Linked DNA regions of Homo sapiens: all the other regions are linked to region 1. The links are contacts of gene promoters, found by promoter capture Hi-C in blood cells and fetal thymus (Javierre and others, 2016). All regions are on one chromosome and are shown on one strand. Each heading gives the region's core, a stretch centred on a gene start or on the middle of the fragment in contact. The rest is flanking DNA. Distances are from core to core; before and after follow the strand shown.

Evidence for each region. Contacts are between HindIII fragments. The CHiCAGO score rates a contact against its expected background, and 5 or more counts as called.
Region 2: a contact is called between a fragment that was not itself captured here and the fragment with the promoter of INSL6 in region 1, in 1 of 17 cell types (activated CD4 T cells). The highest score is 5.6, in activated CD4 T cells.
Region 3: a fragment that was not itself captured here is called in contact with the fragment with the promoter of INSL6 in region 1 in 1 of 17 cell types (naive CD8 T cells); the score reaches 5.3 in naive CD8 T cells.

The regions. Positions count from the first base shown.
Region 1 is chr9:5,184,273-5,186,998 of GRCh38, forward strand. It overlaps INSL6 (insulin like 6), which reads right to left and starts at 1,367. Exons shown (of 2, transcript NM_007179.3): 1 at 1,042-1,367. The coding sequence starts at 1,330. The HindIII fragment of the contact is 2,408 bases long and covers 1-1,749 here.
Region 2 is chr9:5,468,255-5,470,958 of GRCh38, forward strand. CD274 (CD274 molecule) reads left to right here. Exons shown (of 7, transcript NM_014143.4): 7 at 1-2,300. All of the region lies in intron 2 of INCR1 (interferon stimulated noncoding RNA 1), which reads right to left. Among named protein-coding and RNA genes, the nearest start is that of CD274, 19 kb to the left of the region's middle. The HindIII fragment of the contact is 4,382 bases long and covers 1-2,704 here.
Region 3 is chr9:5,486,673-5,489,372 of GRCh38, forward strand. The region is part of intron 2 of INCR1 (interferon stimulated noncoding RNA 1); the gene reads right to left. Among named protein-coding and RNA genes, the nearest start is that of PDCD1LG2, 23 kb to the right of the region's middle. The HindIII fragment of the contact is 2,434 bases long and covers 135-2,568 here.

The DNA.
Region 1 (2,726 bases), core at 117-2,616:
CTTTTACAAGATTTGTCCAAATCAAATCAACTGAATTACTGTAAAAGGCAGTAATCTTCTTCCTATGGATACACTATAAACAAAGTGCAATTTCTTTTAAAATGACAAATCATACTGGGACTAAAATGTCTTAGTCACAAAATGTAAAAACATAGTAAGATATACCAATGAATCTGGAACAAGAATATCCTTCCTGCAGACTGCTTGAAAGCATCAAGTATAAATTCAGCGCATATTAAACACATGCGATGTGCTAGGCCATCTGCTAAGCATTTCAGACAAAAATATGCATGAAATAGTCCCTATAATACAGTATGGTATATAGGGCTGACTTTATGGGACTGAAACCTATGTAGTCACACAGGCCTTGCATTTGGTTTAAATGTTCCTTTGTTGTTCTGAATAAATTTACCTTTGAAACTTTAAGTGAATGAAATACAAGTACGTAAACTCTTAAATGAAGCCTGATAGGAGAACGGACCAGGCCTATCTCCTGGTACGTGACCAGGGGATATGGACAAGTAAGGAAAACAGTTTTATATTTTACTACCTTTATTTTCATGGCCCTTTCCTGCTTTTTTGAACAAGGTACTCTGCATTTTTATCTTCTACAAGGTTGGGCTGATTCTGTAGCCAATGACGACAGTCAAATACAACTATGTGCTAGATACTGTGGTAGAAAGGACAATGGAGCCATTGGCCATGAAAAGGTCAATGATGACTTCACAGGGAAAATGATACTTAAGTTGGGCTTTGAAGGACAAAAAGGAGTTTGCCAGATGACTGGCACTCCAGAAAAGAACAACATTCTTACATAAATATGTAGACTTACAAGTGTACATTTATTTCCTCCAAGTTAAAAAAAAAAGCGCTTCATTGAAGTTTTGTATATTTTCAATACACTGTTTTTTACAATTTTTTAAAGAGCTGTGTACTAGGCACAAATTCCACTTCCTGGGGAAGCTCACCTTCTGGCAGAGCAAATGCAGGAATAAGAAATATACAGAGGTGAACAAACATGCCTTCGGTTTCGATTTTTACCTGGGTTTGTGCCTCTTCCCCGGGCCGGGGAAGCGGTTTGCGGGCTTTCGAACTGGTATGGGCTGTAGGCTTCGACCTTCTCCGAGGCCTGTGCAATCAACCGTGAGAAAGGGGTTTCCTCCTCGAAACGGAACTGGCTCCAGTTGGCATGGCCGCAGAGTTTTTCTATTTCTTTCACCAAGTACCTGCCGCACAGCTTCCTGGCACTGCTGATGTCGCTCAGTTCACGAGAAAACCGAACCAGCAGGAGTCCAAGCCACAGCAGGGACAAGCGGAGGAGCCGCGGCATCCCTGTGACCCCAGGCTAGTCCTCCGCGTTGTGCAATGGCGGTCGGCCGGACCCTGCTCCCTGTCTGCGCCTGCGCCAGGCCGAGCGGCGCGCACAAACACTGCGGAATTCCGAGCGCGTGGGGGCGTCGCCAGAACTTCAAGGGAAGGCGCGCGCCGGCTGCGTCAAGGCTTTCCCGCCAGCTCAGGGGTCTCAGGTGGTCGAAGGTAGCAGGCCCTGGCTCCTAAAATGAAAGCCAAAAATCCCCTCACTACCCCGCCACCCCCTAGTTTGATTCATTTTTCTTTCCTTCCTCAATGGGAGATTCCTCACCAAGCGTGAGAACATAGGATCCCTGTTACCTGATAACGTAGGTTAAAAAGTGTTGCTCCCTCCACCTGGAATGCGTTTCTCGTTCTTGTTTGCCAGGTTGTTAATAAAGCTTCGTCTCCCTCACAGAAACCCCCTGTCATCTCTTTCACGGTGTTAATCGACCTGTTTCCATTTGTGGGCGTGTAACCTCTTTCCTGAGACCCCCGCTTCATGAAGGCAAGGGCCTGCGTCTGTTCTTGCTTTCCATCGTACCCCGGGATCTGGCATTTAGCTGGCAATCAAATATGTGGTGAAACGTTTAAGTGTTGCATATGGCCATGTGCGTTTAGTCAGGTTCAAAGCTTCTTCAGAAAAATCCTACTGGTTCACAGGGAGGCATGGGCCTTAGCCTCAATCTCCAGAAAAAAGAAGTAGGGACGCTGTCTTGAGGTACCTGGGATGGAAATCTGGTTCTTTCGGTTAGATAATGTAGAGGATTGTGTATTACCAAATTAACTTGTGACAGGGACCCCTAGAGGATTTGCCTTGTAAGAATAACAGCATGCAGCATGAAATGCTCATTTAGGTGAGATAATTTTGCTCAGTTAGGAGGGAAGGGGCAGGGAAGCGAAGCGCAATCGGCATAGGTAGCTTTATCATTTTAAATGAAGTTCTGTGTTACTAGTGTGTTGGCGTGGAAGGATGTACTATCGGCCACAAGAGGGCATTCGGTGGCTGTCTCAGGAATAAGGTTCAGGATGCTGAAGCCACAGGTGCAAGCTTATCAGTGATCTCACCATTTCCCTATACAATTTTATTTTTTTCTCCCTTTCTTTTCTGTCTTCTGACTCTATGTCTTTTTCTTAATTTTCCGTTTCCCTATCTTTTCCCTGCTTCCCAGTGGCATCCATGAATGCTGTTAAATTAACTGCCAATTGGATTTTTTAAATGGTTGATATAATATAGATTAGTAAAATTTAATCACCTTCCTTAAAAAATAACTTATGTCCAAACTATAGTGGGCCATGAGTCCTAGTCAGAACTTTATCAGGTAAGGTTTTTGAGAACGGAAAATATTAATCATACTGAGATGAATGTAAGCCTT
Region 2 (2,704 bases), core at 11-2,510, 280 kb after region 1:
TTGTTTTCTGCATGACTGAGAGTCTCAGTGTTGGAACGGGACAGTATTTATGTATGAGTTTTTCCTATTTATTTTGAGTCTGTGAGGTCTTCTTGTCATGTGAGTGTGGTTGTGAATGATTTCTTTTGAAGATATATTGTAGTAGATGTTACAATTTTGTCGCCAAACTAAACTTGCTGCTTAATGATTTGCTCACATCTAGTAAAACATGGAGTATTTGTAAGGTGCTTGGTCTCCTCTATAACTACAAGTATACATTGGAAGCATAAAGATCAAACCGTTGGTTGCATAGGATGTCACCTTTATTTAACCCATTAATACTCTGGTTGACCTAATCTTATTCTCAGACCTCAAGTGTCTGTGCAGTATCTGTTCCATTTAAATATCAGCTTTACAATTATGTGGTAGCCTACACACATAATCTCATTTCATCGCTGTAACCACCCTGTTGTGATAACCACTATTATTTTACCCATCGTACAGCTGAGGAAGCAAACAGATTAAGTAACTTGCCCAAACCAGTAAATAGCAGACCTCAGACTGCCACCCACTGTCCTTTTATAATACAATTTACAGCTATATTTTACTTTAAGCAATTCTTTTATTCAAAAACCATTTATTAAGTGCCCTTGCAATATCAATCGCTGTGCCAGGCATTGAATCTACAGATGTGAGCAAGACAAAGTACCTGTCCTCAAGGAGCTCATAGTATAATGAGGAGATTAACAAGAAAATGTATTATTACAATTTAGTCCAGTGTCATAGCATAAGGATGATGCGAGGGGAAAACCCGAGCAGTGTTGCCAAGAGGAGGAAATAGGCCAATGTGGTCTGGGACGGTTGGATATACTTAAACATCTTAATAATCAGAGTAATTTTCATTTACAAAGAGAGGTCGGTACTTAAAATAACCCTGAAAAATAACACTGGAATTCCTTTTCTAGCATTATATTTATTCCTGATTTGCCTTTGCCATATAATCTAATGCTTGTTTATATAGTGTCTGGTATTGTTTAACAGTTCTGTCTTTTCTATTTAAATGCCACTAAATTTTAAATTCATACCTTTCCATGATTCAAAATTCAAAAGATCCCATGGGAGATGGTTGGAAAATCTCCACTTCATCCTCCAAGCCATTCAAGTTTCCTTTCCAGAAGCAACTGCTACTGCCTTTCATTCATATGTTCTTCTAAAGATAGTCTACATTTGGAAATGTATGTTAAAAGCACGTATTTTTAAAATTTTTTTCCTAAATAGTAACACATTGTATGTCTGCTGTGTACTTTGCTATTTTTATTTATTTTAGTGTTTCTTATATAGCAGATGGAATGAATTTGAAGTTCCCAGGGCTGAGGATCCATGCCTTCTTTGTTTCTAAGTTATCTTTCCCATAGCTTTTCATTATCTTTCATATGATCCAGTATATGTTAAATATGTCCTACATATACATTTAGACAACCACCATTTGTTAAGTATTTGCTCTAGGACAGAGTTTGGATTTGTTTATGTTTGCTCAAAAGGAGACCCATGGGCTCTCCAGGGTGCACTGAGTCAATCTAGTCCTAAAAAGCAATCTTATTATTAACTCTGTATGACAGAATCATGTCTGGAACTTTTGTTTTCTGCTTTCTGTCAAGTATAAACTTCACTTTGATGCTGTACTTGCAAAATCACATTTTCTTTCTGGAAATTCCGGCAGTGTACCTTGACTGCTAGCTACCCTGTGCCAGAAAAGCCTCATTCGTTGTGCTTGAACCCTTGAATGCCACCAGCTGTCATCACTACACAGCCCTCCTAAGAGGCTTCCTGGAGGTTTCGAGATTCAGATGCCCTGGGAGATCCCAGAGTTTCCTTTCCCTCTTGGCCATATTCTGGTGTCAATGACAAGGAGTACCTTGGCTTTGCCACATGTCAAGGCTGAAGAAACAGTGTCTCCAACAGAGCTCCTTGTGTTATCTGTTTGTACATGTGCATTTGTACAGTAATTGGTGTGACAGTGTTCTTTGTGTGAATTACAGGCAAGAATTGTGGCTGAGCAAGGCACATAGTCTACTCAGTCTATTCCTAAGTCCTAACTCCTCCTTGTGGTGTTGGATTTGTAAGGCACTTTATCCCTTTTGTCTCATGTTTCATCGTAAATGGCATAGGCAGAGATGATACCTAATTCTGCATTTGATTGTCACTTTTTGTACCTGCATTAATTTAATAAAATATTCTTATTTATTTTGTTACTTGGTACACCAGCATGTCCATTTTCTTGTTTATTTTGTGTTTAATAAAATGTTCAGTTTAACATCCCAGTGGAGAAAGTTACTTGGAATATTTGCAGCCTTGTTCCTAGTTCTTTTTTCATTGCTTATACAGCATGTTTTTATACAGCATGCTTTTGAATCCTGCACAATGAAAAAAGTATCAAAAGATTTTATTTTAAAAAAGAATGTATTGAAAATTTTCATTCTCTCTCATTCGGCAGCTTCCTTTAGGACCATACCAAGAAGAGTCAAAATCCTGTCATCTACATTGAAGATCTAAGGGAGAGAGGGTGGGAGAGAAGGAGTGGAACCCAATAGAACTATAGGGAAACAAAGGGACTTACCTCTAAGAAAGTACTTTTCCCAGATCTGTAAACGGGTATGCAATCCAGTGTGTAGGAAGATAGATGTATTGCAGTCTTCAAGTTTTGAAAATAAAGCGAGGAAACTAG
Region 3 (2,700 bases), core at 102-2,601, 300 kb after region 1:
CCTTTGACCTTAATACAAACACACAAACACAAAATAGTTGTGTTTCCCCGAGTGAAAAGTTGCTTAGCTTTGCCCCTGCTCCCCAAATCTTGGAAATATTATTAATTGTTTAACTGTCCAAGCTTGGCTTAGAAAGCTTAGAATCAATTTTATTCTTTCACTCAACTAATTTACTGAGCATTTACTACATGTCAAACTTCAAGCTAGACACTGAGGATTCAAGAGGGAACAAGACAGACATGGTTCTTGCCCTCATGGAATTCACATTCTAATAAGGGGTCAAGGAAGTGGATGTGTGGAAACATATAACGAATAAACAAATGACTATATAAATGCAGCAATACCAATCAATAAGGGACCAAGCTAAATAATTGCCAAATTGGGAACCAATTTTAAATGGGATGGCTGGGACAGGGGCTTCTTCAAAAAGGTTGAATTTAAACCGAGCCAGCCATACAAAAGGGCGTACCCCCAGCAGGAGGCACAATGTGCACAGGAGCTTTGATGAGAGATTGAGTTAAGGAGTTCAAGGGCTAGAAAGGAGGCCAGGGTGACTAGAGAGTGGAGAGCAGAGCAGGGAGGGGCACAAGATGAGACTGTGCATCACGCAGGCCCGTGACAGCCATGGTGAAGAGTCCAAATTCTGTTCTAAATGCGGTGGGAAGTGGTTGCAAGTTTTTGTTTGTTTGTTTTTGTTTTTGTTTTGAGACAGAGTCTCGCTCTGTCACCAGGCTGGAGTGTAGTGGTGCAATCTCGGCTCACTGCAACATCTGCCCCTCGAGTTCAAGCGATTCTCCTGCCTCAGCCTCCCAAGTGGCTGGCACTCCAGGTGCACTCCACCACGCCCAGCTAATTTTTGTATTTTTAGTAGAGATGGGGTTTCACCATGCTGGCCAGGATGGTTTCGATCTCTTGACCTTGTGATCCACCCGCCTCGGCCTCCCAAAGTGCTGGGATTACAGGCGTGAGCCACCGTGCCCGGTCAGTTGCAAGTTTTAAGTAGGGGGAAATGATTGATCCAGCTTGTGTTATGAGATCATTTGGGCTGCAGTGTGGAGGAAGAACTAAAAGGACATGGAAGCAGGAGGACAGCCAGGTGATGGGTGTCGTAAGCCTGGGAAATGTGATGGTAATACAAGCATGTCAAGCCCGCAGATCCTGACAGTAAGCATGCCTTCCTGACTTGTGCCCGGGGAGAGGAGGCGACAGTGATTCTGACCTCTTCTTATTTCCCTCCCTTTCTAGCGCCACTTTCCTGAGCTTTTTTACTGTATGTTATGTATACCGTATGCTGTATGCTGTATGCTGTATGCTGTATCTAACAGCCCTTGTAAACAGCCTTAAATCCTTTCTAAACATCCTGGATAGTCCTAGAATCCTAGAATATGGATTCTTTCTTGGTTTCAAAACTGATTTCATTATATTGCATGGAAAGAAGAAATGTCTTTATTGTAGAGTGTTGGTATTTCTGGGTAGGTTGATTCAAAGATTAAGTTGTGAGGGCAGTTGGGACTTTTAGAGAAAGTGGATCTAGAAAATCTAAATTGTTACTAAGAAATATTGATGAATGTAGGTCATGGAGCTCAGAAAGAAGTATCTCTTTGATATTTTTCCTAAACTATGTGAAAGGGAAGCAATGGGAAATTTCGTGAACGGAGTCAGGAAAGCCTCAAGTTGGGTGGCTAGGAAGGGTAGAGGAGTTGCTATTAGGGAACCGAGGAGTGAATGTGGAGATGGTGAAGTGAGACAGGAGGCTGCTTCCTCAAAAGTCAGGACAGTTATGAGAATGCTCTGGTTTGAATGTCAAGATGTTACTGGAAATGAATAACTACAAATACACGCATGTTCATGCACACACACATACACAAACACATGAAGCTATTGAAAAGAATATGCAGCAAATGTGTTTTGTAAGTGAGCTAGTATCTAGTTGAAGTACCATGATCATCTTTAAAATCTCTTGCTAGAAGAGGAATGTTGACTGCCCAGTGTGGGTGTGGATAGGGAATGAATATCCTCGCTGTGGTATCCATAATTGAAATGCACTGTGCCTCATCTCCAGACCAGCCCTTACAGCAGTGCCAATCTCCTTCTTGTCCACTGCACAATAGCTCGCTGACTCTGCCTACTCTTTGGTCAGTTTCCCGGATATCCTTGTCTCTTCATTCTTAGTACATCACATCATTACTCAGGCCTCTTGCCTGGGCCCCTGGCAGCTTTAGGTACCTCATTCAGCGCAACTGTTTTCCTGTTTTCTTGAGCAGTGAGGTCATAATTTCATGACCTTGGATACACATTGCGTGAAGTAAAATGTTTATTAAGTCAGATGAATTAATAACATTTTCAGGAAGTTCATAATTGATGGAGACAAATTACATATGTACCATACATCAACACACACACACACAGAATGTGCACACTCAGGAGAGATTAATAGTGTGTATGTTTATTAGATATAAAGCAGCTGTAGCCTATGAAGAAAGGACAGAAGAAACAGCGAGGTACAGGAACTAGAGTCGACAAAGAAGAAAAGCAAAGATGCCCACATACATCCTACTTTTAATGCAAAGCTTGTCTCTGCTGGATAACATCACAAATCCCCCAACTAAAATCACCAATTGTTCTGTCCCTAAAGATATCTTTCTAGTTCTCAATCCCAGGCCAGGTGGGGCTCTATTTAACTCTCTTTTATTTAATCCA